Regions from separate parts of the Homo sapiens genome. Here region 2 is linked to region 1. The links are contacts of gene promoters, found by promoter capture Hi-C in blood cells and fetal thymus (Javierre and others, 2016). All regions are on one chromosome and are shown on one strand. The core of a region is centred on a gene start or on the middle of the fragment in contact, and the rest is flanking DNA. Distances in the headings are between cores, read along the strand shown.

Region 1 (6,177 bases), core at 1,433-3,932:
TTTTTTAGAGCAGTTTTAGGTTCACAGCAAAACTGAGTGGAAGAACAGAGACTCCCCAGATCCCTTTCTTTGCTGAGTGCCCTTTTTCTGGTACTGTACAATGCTCCAGGCCCATCTCCTACTTTCCTTGCTCCAGTCCTCCTGGAAACAGCCATTTCTCCAAGGAGCAGCCCTGGTTCCTTTTACTGGAAAATGATGTTAGAAACCAAGATCTGGGCTTTGTGTTTGTTGCTGCTTAAAGTGCTCCTGCTTGTAGGATCTCTCAGCCAACAGAGCAAGGAGGTCTATGTGTGTACTATGTGTATATAACATAATTACATTTCCCTTTTAACCAGCTGTATCTATATTAAGCTAAATATGAGTTCATACTGATGTCTTCAACTCTAATCTATTACCACATGAATCACTGTCACCACCTCACCTCGCTTATTTATTTGTAACTTCCACTCCAACGGTGAGACACCTGGCTCTCACCATCTGCCATACAGTAACTTAATTGTTCCATTCCAGTCCCCACATACAGCGGTGCCTGAACTGTTGACCCGTACCCCCATGCCTCATTCATTTTTATCCCTTTACCTTGCATTATTCTCTTCCATCGCACTCTACATTGTTTATATTCTGCATTTTATGCTTATTTATGTTTATTTTCTGTTTTCCTTCTCTATAACAGAGACTTTCACTGCTGAGTCCCAAGCATCTAAAATCTGCACAAAGTAGGTGTCCAGTGAATAAAGTGGAACAAATGAGCAGAAAATTGTAATGCTTATTATGTTAATTAAGCAGGTCTCAGGAGGGCCTTTCCTAGCCAGTCCTGTGTCACTCAGCTTTGAGATACTGAATCTATTTCAATCAAAGTATAATCATAGCATATAATTTACACTTTTCAACAATTCAACTCCTTTTCTCCCCAATTGCTACAATTATAACCACTTAACTAAAACAGTGAACTATTACAAACTCACATCCCCTATTTTTTCCTTTAAGGCCTGACTCTAACTACCACCACCTCCCCCCATCCCCATCCCTTGCCACCTTAAACCTCCTAGATAGACACTGCCAATCAGTTTAAATTTTCTAGACATTTTTATTCTGTCTGCTCTAGTTATCTACTGATTTTTCTTTCACACTTGTTAAAAACATGAATAACATAATCAATATCATAAATCCAAATCACAGAGTTAATGAGAAGTTATATAAACATTAGGCTGTTGATTTTCAGTTAATCTTCCAAAAGGACTGTGAAGGCCTATAAAACAATTTTTTGAAAAAGTACACAGATTTGCTCTCTCTTCCTTAGTGAAAGCCTGAGTTTTAAGAACAAAGACACTAACAGAAAACATATGGAAAAGATCAGTAACAAGATGGAATCTTGGCTAAAGTGTGGTCTGCCACGTTTTTCATACCAATGTCTCAAATAATAGACTAGATTTTTACAACTGCCAAAGCATCACTTGAAACACTGTATACTTTTCTTAATGCAAAGTTTAACAAAATAAATCTTGTGAGTTCTTTGTAAAAAGCTAATGGAAAACACTTTTTTGAGGAAACAAAATGAACTCCAGGATTCACTTTATCTTATTAGTTTGTAAAAGCTTAAAAGAATTCCCCCCCAAAATGAACTCCGAATCTACTGCCAAAAGACACAAGTCAACTCTCTGTTTAGAATATGAGAACAGTGTAAAAATTAAACATTAAAAACAGTTAACTGTTACTATTCAGGAGAGATAGCTCTATGAAATGAAGAAATTTTCTAAATCTACAAAATAAAGGCAATAGCTATTGAGTAACATAAGCTTTTCATCCCATTTTATTCAATACTACAGAATTATTTTGTGCAATAGTAAAAACAGGCAAATTGAAGATACACCTTTGGAGTGCAACCAACTGACTAATTTTATCTGAAAGGATATTAGAAGTCATTCTAGTGGGTACATCTGCCAAAAAGAGGAGAAATGAGATAGCTGATAAAAATGATGATAAAAATGAAGATGTAAGCCTTTGTATAGAAAAGTCGTATAGTTAATCTGTGTAAGCAATGACAATCAAGTGCATTTTAAAAATAAACAATGCGAAATGTTATGTTTCTAATCCTGATTTCTTGTTTTAACAAATAGAAGTACTGATATGAACCTAGGTGTTGAATAACCAAGGGACTCAAGAAATTTTGAGTTCCAGGCCAGGCGTGGTGGCTCATGCCTGTAATCCCAGCAATTTGGGAGGTGGAGGCGGGAGGATCACCTGAGGTCAGGAGTTCAAGACCAGCCTGGCCAACATGGTGAAACCCCATCTCTACTAAAAATACAAGAAATTAGCCAGGCATGGTGGCTCATGCCTGTAATCCCAGCTACTTGGGAGGCTGAGACAGGAGAATTGCTTGAACCCGGGAGGTGGAGGTTGTGGTGAGCCGAGGTTGCACCACTATACTCTGGCCTGGGCAGCAAAGCAAGACTCCATCTCAAAAAATTAAAAAAGAAATTTTGAGTTCCACCTTAAGTTGCTGAGACTCTGGAGTTCCCTGTCACAGTGGGCCTTAATTTGAAGAATTCTTTGGCATGAAAATGAAAATAAAAACAGTAATCAGTACATGCTGTTTCATTTAGTTTTGTTTGCCTTTCACATTAGAGGAAATTCTTGCCACACCTCAAACCAAAATTAAGGGGAAAAGAAAGAAGTAAGCCACATAAATCTGACCAAGAACACAAGCATCTTAATTTGAATCCACAAAGTTTCATGTAATGAAAAGAAATACATAATTTTAATTCAACCCGAGTGTTTTCCAAGAAGATTGTATTTGCTTAAATTGCTACAGTAATTCAAGAGACAGCCCTGTCTGGACACAGAGTTACTGTGGATTTTTAAGAGACTCAGTTAAAGAATTTAGGAATTTCTGATTCATTTAAAGGATTTACAAATTCATCAACCCCTGAAAACTAAAGCAAATTGAACAGGTATGATAATAAAATAATTTTCAATTTTTTAAGAATGTATTCCTACTGTTAAAATTTAAAAGTATATTGGATTTTTTAATATTAAAATAGACTGCATCTATTACAAAAGCACAATTTTTGGAAGCAAAATCTGGTAAAAAAGTTATGTTAAACTTTTGATTAGGCAAAATGTTCAAATAAAGTAGTATAATGAGTTTAACTTTCTCATTTAAGATTTACCCAATAAAAAATCTTTGTTTAGATTTTTTTTTACTTTGAATGAAAGGAAAGATTCTCAGGTTAAAGGAATCAATCTCTTTCTCTTCCTTAGGTCTCTTTTTTTCTATGAATTATAAGTAACAAAGAACCAGCTAATGCCTTTGAGGCATACAGCTGAGCAATGCTAGTGATTCCGGTTGGGGGGTTGATGGGCATTTGTACAAATTTCACTCAAGATTTTCTCCAAATTTCTCTACTGACTAAATCCCTGATATAGAATGTTTTTCTTTTCATTTACTTCTTTCTCAAAGGGAAAATACAGATGCTCTATCTAGTCTATTGAAGGATCTAGTTACTTTGGGTTTTAGTTAATTACGATTTAAATGTATTATGGCTAAAAATAATTGAGGTAATTGTATTTTTAATAGCAAAAAAATTTTATAAAATTAAAATTTAGAACTTTTTTGGAAAAATCTAAATTATATGCTAATATTTGCTTTCTTATATGCTAGTTTCTATGTCATACAAATAAAAACAATTATGTCTTTAACATAATAAAATGTTGAGGATTTTACTTTAAACTTTTCCTGAACAAGTAAATTATACCTCATTAGTAATTTCAATTGAAACTTTTCTTGATGAACACGAGTGCTTTTCTCCAAGTAAGAGAAATATTATGACACAGATGGTTTTATTGCTATAATATGAAAAATTCACATTGAAAACTGGTAATATATATATATTACTTTGCTCCAAACATTCTTTTTCACATTTGTTCTTTTCCTGCTACACGATGTACTAGGAAAGTGAGGAATACAGTATATTGTGATGAAGAAATATTCAATAGAAAAAGGAACAGTCAAGCTCTCATGAATATGTTCATTTGAAGAAATTATCATAGTGAAATAAATGCCTAGGAATAATCAACATTAGTAGAGAGAAGCATTTGCTAGCAAGCCTTAACCTATAACTTATTAACTTATTCATTCAACACACCTTTGAGCACTTATAACACTGCATTGTATTAGATTCTGTTAAAAGATATTAGGAAATGAGATGATCAACAATGAATTATACAATATTGCTGTGAGTTATCCTATAGAGAACAAGGCATACATTGTAGAGTATGAAAAGCAGAAGTAACAAAAATATGCTTAGCAAATGACTCAGAAGAGATTAGTTGGGGAATGAAAAATTTGGATAAAATAAGAGATTGTTGTAACAGGGGAAATTATCCTGGGGAAAGAGCAAGAGGCATAGAAAATAATGAGCATATAGATGAAAACAGGATGGATTTCAAAACAGAAAACTGCACTTAATCAAAGGGAGTGGGACAAGATTGTACTACATGGTTAGGAACGTGGAGGGAGGAGGACAAGGATGTTTAAGATAAGTTCAGGTTTAGAAGAGAAATTGTTCCTCAAGGAAAGACTTTCTTCTTAGGTGCTCACAAAGGCGGAAAGCAGACAATATTAAAAACCTCTTTATTTTCAGAGACGCCCCAGTCATGTCTTGATTCAAGGCCTTCTTCTTTTTTCCCAACAATTTTTCATAGTTGTTGAACAACAGACTCTAATTCTCAAATGTAAGGTTGATAACTGATGATTAGCTAATGTTCTCAACAAAGGGATAAAATTCAAGCTGAGTTTTCAGCCAGGCAGGTGGCTCACACCTGTAATCTCAGCACTTTGGGAGGCTGAGGTGGGCGGATCACCTGAGGTCAGGAGTTCGAGACCAGGCTGGCCAACATGGCAAAATCCCGTCTTAACTAAAAATACAAAAAAATGTAGCCAGTCGTGGTGGTGCACGCCTGTAATCCCAGCTACTCAGGAGGCTGAGGCACAAGAATCACTTGAGCCTGGGAGGCGGAGGTTGCAGTGAGCCGAGATTGTGCCACTGCACTCCAGCCTGGGTGACAGCACGAGACTCTTGTCTCCAAAAAAAAAAAAGTTAATATGTTATACTATAATAAGTACAATAAAATATTATAAAATTATACATAAAATATCATCAATGAGTATAAAATGTATAGAATATTCTATATCCATTCCTATTAATCTCCCAAAGTCTGGGTCAAATGATGTCTACAAAAGACTTTCCTGTCTCCGTAAGGCTGAGGTAAGCCACTGGCCCCACAGCATTGCCTATCTCTGCTATAAAGGATATTACCCTCTGCCTTAGATTAGGGTTCACTTTGTTGTATCTCTCTCCTCCACTAAGCTGTTTGCTCTTTACAGAAGGGACTATGGCTTCACGTCTTCTTCATTTCTGTATTCTCCACCAACTTAGCATAGTGCCTCATCACTAGAAATAATTCAGGACAACGGTAAACTGATGTAACCCAATCAAACTAACTACTAATATTTGTAAAGTGCTTCACTAAGCATGTTTACATACAGTAAAGTAGTAGAGTACACTAGGTGAATAAGCATTTCCAAGCAGACCCACTGGGAGCTTCCAGCCCAGCAAGGAGAGCCTGCTCTGAACACTGCCCTTTGGTATGATACCATAACTCCTTAAATCTACCTCCTTCCAAGATTCTCTACTTTTTCACCCACGAACACTGACTGTAGTGTGAAATCACAGCCCAAATATGTTAATTCATTAAATTAGGCATTCATTCCCAGAGTGCAAATTCCTCAGGTCAGAATTTAGGCCCTCCAAGGCCGGGGGTGGTGGCTCATGCCTGTAATCCCAGCACTTTGGGAGGCTGAGGGGGGCAGACTGGTTGAGCCCAGAAGTTCATGACCAGCCTGAGCAACATGGCAAAACCCTGTCTTTACAAAAAATTAAAAAATTAGCCAGGTGTGGTGGCACGCATCTGTAATCCCAGCTACTCAGGAGGCTGAAGTAAGAGAGTCACTTGAGCCCAGGAGATGGAGGGTGAGCCAAGAGTGCACCACTGCGCTCCAGCCTGGGTGACAGAGTGAGACTGTCTCAGAAAAAAAAAGTTAGGCTAATCCCTTCAGATCTGGATTTAATAGTCTTATTTTGCTCCTTCAAGAGTTAACCAACCACATTTCCCAAA
Region 2 (6,177 bases), core at 2,476-4,975, 62 kb after region 1:
GAGATTAAACACCTTTTCTAATTCAATGCTGTTAGTCATTAGTTTAAGAAAAAAAAAAGAAAGAAATGAAATACATAAAGGTACATTGTCCTTATTATCACAAATTTATAATTTACATGAGGATAAGAATAGTTATAGGCTGGGCACAGTGGCTCACGCCTATAATCCCAGCACTTTGTGAGGCCCAGACGGGTGGATCACCTAAGGTCATGAATTCGAGACCAACCTGGCCAACGTGGTGAAACCCCATCTCTACTAAGAATACAAAAATTAGCAGGGCGTGGTGGTGGATGCCTGTAATCCCAGCTGCTCAGGAGGCTGAGGCAGGAGAATCGCTTGAACCCAGGAGGTGGAGGTTGTAGTGAGCCAAGATCATGCCCCTGAACTCCAGCGTGAGTGAGAGCACGAGACTCTGTCTCAAAAAAAAAAAAAAAAAAAAAAGAGTAGTTATAATACAAGGCATAATTTGATACATTGATACATTTTTAGAGAGTACCTAGGGTTGATAACAAACTGATATGATTAGGCCAGGCAACCTCCTCCATGTACTCCTAGGTCACATTCTCAATGAGGCCTTCCCCAGTCAAGCTATTTAAAAATGCATACCTTCCCTCCTCCTGTGCAGCCCATCCTTGTTTATTTTCTCCCCACCACTTATCGATATCTAATATATTATTTATTTTACATATCTGTTTTGTTTATTGCCTGTTTCCCCTACTAGAAAATAAATCTCTTGAGTTTATGAAGACGGGCTTTTCTTTTGTTCACTGCTACATATTAAGCACAACGACAATGCTTGGCTGCAGAACAGGCAACACGTAACTGCTGGATAAATGAAGGAACACTAGCGACTTGTCTGTCTAATCTCTGCTTAACTTCAGGTCTTATATTTTCAAGTGGTTTGTTAGACAATTCACTCAAGAACTGTTTGAACACCAACCATGTACAAGGCACTCTCCTAGGTTACCTGGGGCTAATACTATCCCTCCCTCTCCCCTAGAGTAGACATTGTATGCATTTATATTCCTATAGCATGTACTCTACCATCAATTACCATGTATCATTGGTTTTGTGCATACACTAGGTTGTAAGCTTCATAAAACTGAAAATTATCTTGTTCATCATTGTATTCTTAGAGACTAATACAATGCAAAGTACATAATATGCTTTTAACATATATGTATTTATTTATTTAAGAATTTACATACAGTAAAATTCACTCTTTTTCTTAATTTTATGATTTTGGCCAAATGAATAGAGTTGTGTATCCAACACAACAACCAGTTCCATACACACAGGGGAACATAAAGAAGAATCACAGCAAATTTACTGTTAAGCCATAAGACAACAGACAAATGCCTCCAAAGTACTCAGGAGAAAAAACCCAAAGAACCAAAACAGTCAACCAAGGATTCTATACCCAGAATGATATCTTTCAAAACCAAAAATGAAATAAAGACTTTTAAGACCAAAATCATAGAAAAAGCTAAAAATTCCATTAAAAGCAGAATATTAGGCCAGGCACAGTGGCTCACATCTGTAATCCCAGCACTTTGGGAGGCCAAGGCAGGATGACTGCTTGAGCCCAGGAGTGTGAGACCAGCCTGGGTCACATAGTGAGACCCCCATTTCTAAAAAAATTTTTTTTTCTAATTGAAAAAAAAAAAGCAGGCCTTCACTACAAGAAACAACAGGATTGGCTGAGTACAGTGGCTCATGCCTATAATCCCAGCACTTTGGGATGCCAAAGTGGATGGATCACCTGAACCCAGGAGTTCAAGACCAGCCTGGGCAACATGGCAAAAACCCATCTCTACCAAAAATACAAAAAATTAGCTGGGCATGGTGGTGCATGCCTGTGGTTCCAGCTATTCAGGAGGCTGAGGTGGGAGGACCACTTGAGCCTGAGAGGTGGAGGTTGCAGTGAGCCGGGTTTGCACCACTGCACTCCAGCCTGGGCAACAGAGTGACACCTCATCTCAAAAAAAACAAAAACAAAACAAAAAAAAAACCCAATAGGATTGAGCAAATGAATAACTTTGTTGATATTTCTAGGAGCCAAGTTTCTCAATATGGAAGAAAGGACATAGAAATGTGAAATGATAGTATGTATATAGACACATAAACACATACATACTATAAACTGGGGATAAGCTAGAGTAGAACTGGAGGCCTTGGTGTACACTCATAATTTTGTAAATATTTATAGTCATGTGTAGCTTAACAACAGGGATACATTCTGATAAATGCATTGTCAGATGATTTATTCACTATAGGAACATCATACAGTGTACTTAAACCTAAATGGTACAGCCTACTGCAAACCGAGGCTATATGGTATGGCCTATTGCTCCTAGGCTATAAACCTATACAGCATTACTATACTAAATACTGTAGGCAATTGTAAAACAATGTTAAGTATTTGTGCATTTAACATATCTAAACATAGGAAAGGTACAGTAAAATACAGTAATGTAATCATGAGACTACCTTTGTATATGCAGTCTGTCACTGATCAAAAAGTAGTTATGCGGCACATGACTATTTGTGCACATGAATATTATATGAATCATGATTTCTTACATACAGGTTTGTGTGTGTGTGTGTGTGTGTATATATGTATAAATACATATTTCCTAGTACTGTTTGTTGAAAGAACCAAGAAGCAAAGACACTCCAATAGCAATGAACAGACCTAGTGTCAGATCTCAGTCTCTAATGCCATTTCCCACAAAAAGAAACTCTGGTTCCTCAGATAAATTGCTGAATCTACACCTAGGGCAGGACAGGTATATTGTGAGCCTGGAAAATCTTTTAATGACAGAATATGAGGAAGTGCTCAAAAATATAATAAGGAATTAACACATGGATTCAGGAGCCGGCTTAAAGAGATTCCCTCTGATCAAATCCGGGACACTTTGAGCACCAAAATAAGATTAAGAAATTATAAATCGTTGGAAAAAAAAGAAATGAATGAATCCATACATATTATAAATATGGATACATATACATACATAGAGAATGGTGATCTATTTCTTAAGCATAATGCCAAATGCCTACTGAGAAATGTGGAGGAAGTGCTAGAGTTGAAAAATCATCATTTTGCAAACATCATAGTAGAGAGTAGATAAGGTAGGAATAATCATAGATGCTAAATTGAGGAAGAAATATTAATAAAGAGTAGTAATTGTGTGGTCATCAAGTCTGTCCCCACAGATTGCATATTGGAGCCAAAGGAGAAAAAATTAGTTATCATATAGTGGAGAAATACAACAGTTTCATTGAGTGAAAAACTTAATATCACCTATGAGGGACAGCTATGCTGAGAAGGACAAAATATCATCTATGCAGAATTTGCCTAAGAAGGCATAGCATCAACTGATCACAATAGATGATCAAAGACAAAATAAGAAACATTCTATTGGGGGAAAAAAGTAGAAAGAAAAAGAAACAAACAAAAAAGTGGAAAGAACTTTTTTTTTAGAGACAAATCTTGCCCTGTGGCCCAGGCTGGAATGCAGTAGCTTGATCATAGCTCACTGCAGTCTCAAATGATACTCTTGCCTCAGCCCCTCAGGTAGCTAGAACTATAGGCATGCACCACTATGCCAGGCTAATTTTTTTTTTTTAACTTTTTGAAGAGATAGAGCCTTGCTCTGTTGCTCAGGATGGTTGCAGGAAGAGCTTTTTAAAAAGATGACAAAGTGAAACATGGCAAAGAAAGGCTAGGGAATAACTCCAGATTAAAGGAAACTAAAGAGACATGACAACTAAATGCAATACTTGAATTTATTTTATCTTATCTTATCTTATTTTATTTTATGATGGAGTCTTGCTCTGTCACCCAGGCTGGAGTGCAGTGGCACAATGTCAGCTCACTGCAACCTCCACTCCCCAGGTTCAAGGAGAAAGAAAATGCAATGTAAGATATTATGAGATCAACTAAGAAAACTGGCATATGGAAAGCATATTAGATAAAAGTATCATATCAATGTCAATTTATGAAGTTGATCACTGCACTGTAATTATATAAGGGAATATCTCTAAACTTAAAACTGCACATTTGAGCCGGGTGCAGTGGCTCATGCCTGTAATCCCAGCACTTTGGGAGACCAAGGTGGGCGGATCACTTGAGGTCAGGAGTTCGAGACCAGCCTGGCCAGCATGGTGAAACCCCATCTCTACTAAAAATACAAAAAAATTAGCTGTGCGTGGTGGTGCATGCCTGCAATCCTAGCTACTCAGGAGGCTGAGGCAGGAGAATCACTTGAACCTGGGGAGCGGAGGTTGCAGTGAGCCAAGATTGTGCCACTGCACTCCAGCCTGGGTGACAGAGCAAGACTCCATCTCAAAATAAAATAAAATAAAATAAAATAAAATAAAATAAAATAAAATAAAATAAAATAAGGCCAGGTACGGTGGCTCATGCCTGTAATCCCAACACTTTGGGAGGCTGAGGTGCATGGATCACTTGAGGTCAGGGGTTCGAGACCAGCCTGGCCAATACGGCGAAACCCCGTCTCTGCTAACAATACAAAAATTAGCCAGATGTGGTGGCATGTGCCTGTAGTCCCAGCTACTAGGGAGGCTGAGGCTGGAGAATCACTTGAGCCTGGGAGGCAGAGGTTGCAGTGAACCAAGATCTTGCCACTGCACTCCAGCCTGGGCAACAGAGTGTGACTCCATCTCAATAAATAAATAAATAAATAAATAAATAAAGTAAAATAATAAAAATACACACTTAAGTATTTATGGGAAATGAGCCATGATACATGCAACATGTCCTAAAAAGGCTCCATATCAAGAACAGCAGCAGAAACATTAAAAATCTAGATAAATATGGCCGGGGGCGGGGGCTCACGCCTGTAATCCCAGCACTTTGGGAGGCCGAGGCGGGCGGATCACGAGGTCAGGAGATCGAGACTATCCTGGCTAACACAGTGAAACCCTGTCTCTACTAAAAAATACAAAAATAATTAGCCGGGTGTGGTGGTGGGCGCCTGTAGTCCCAGCTACTCGGGAGGCTGAGGCAGAAGAATGGTGTGAACCCAGGAGGCAGAGCTTGCAGTGAGCTGAGATTACGCCATTGCACTCCAGCCTGGGCGACAGCAAGACTCCATCTCAAAAAATAATAATAATAAATAAATAAAAATAAAAAATAAAAATCTGGAGAAATATGACAAACTATTAGCCTTTTCTTAAGTTATTTAAAGTATGTATGACAGTTGAAGTAAAACATTATAATGTTATCTAATGGAGTTTTATTATTATCATTATTATATTTTGAGACAGGGTCTCAGTCTCCCAGGCTAAAGTGCAATAGCATAATCACAGCTCACTGCACTGTCGAACTCCTGGGCTCAAGTAATTCTCCTACCTCAGCCTACCAAGTAGCTGGGACTACGAGTGCACCCCACTACAATAAGCTAATTTTGTTGTTGTTTTTGTAGAGATAGGGTCTTCCTTTGTTGCTCAGACTGGACTAATGGAGTTTTTCAGCACATACATGTGAATATAATTCACATGAAAACTACCACATGAAGCAGGAAGGGGAAGTGATCCATGTGGTTATAGGACCACAAGACTATAACTGCAGTGGTAAAGTATCAAATCTAAATAGACTGTTAAAAGTTAGGTTACGTATGTTATAATCCCCACAGCAGCCAATAAAAAATAATACAAATATAGCCAAAACGTGAATGAAATAAATTAAAAGAGAATATTAAAATATATTTAAAGGAGAGGGTTTTGAGAAGATGACAGAATAGGAAGTACCAGAATTCCATCTCTCCACTTATATAACAATTTCACTGGCAGAATCTGTTTGATATAACCATTTGGAAACTCTGAGTCTAATGAAGGCTGGCAACATCCAGGCAAAGGCTTGGAGAAGGGCTTGGATGGTAAATTGTGATTAATTTTAGCAAATTTCAGCTCTTAGTATAGCAGCAGCTACCCATTTCTTCACCCCCACCCCCCTGGCAGGCAGTCATGTGAGTATAACCAGAGCAGCTTACACACAGCTTATAGAAGCCAGAGCAAGCAAAAAAAAAAAAAGGACCCTGTCCTCCAGCCATAAAGGATCTGTGTTTTGTTCACTGCGGCTTCTTATCACAGAAGTGTAGACAAAGAGTCAGGCAGCCATTGTAGTTACACATCCCCACACTTTTGAAAACC

What was found. Contacts are between HindIII fragments. The CHiCAGO score rates a contact against its expected background, and 5 or more counts as called.
Region 2: a contact is called between a fragment that was not itself captured here and the fragment with the promoter of OMD in region 1, in 1 of 17 cell types (megakaryocytes). The highest score is 5.4, in megakaryocytes.

What each region holds. Positions count from the first base shown.
Region 1 is chr9:92,420,976-92,427,152 of GRCh38, reverse strand. OMD (osteomodulin) reads left to right here and starts at 2,682. Exons shown (of 3, transcript NM_005014.3): 1 at 2,682-2,951. The region is part of intron 5 of CENPP (centromere protein P); the gene reads right to left. The HindIII fragment of the contact is 8,215 bases long and covers 1,799-6,177 here.
Region 2 is chr9:92,359,671-92,365,847 of GRCh38, reverse strand. The region is part of intron 4 of CENPP (centromere protein P); the gene reads right to left. Among named protein-coding and RNA genes, the nearest start is that of CENPP, 37 kb to the right of the region's middle. The HindIII fragment of the contact is 5,261 bases long and covers 1,095-6,177 here.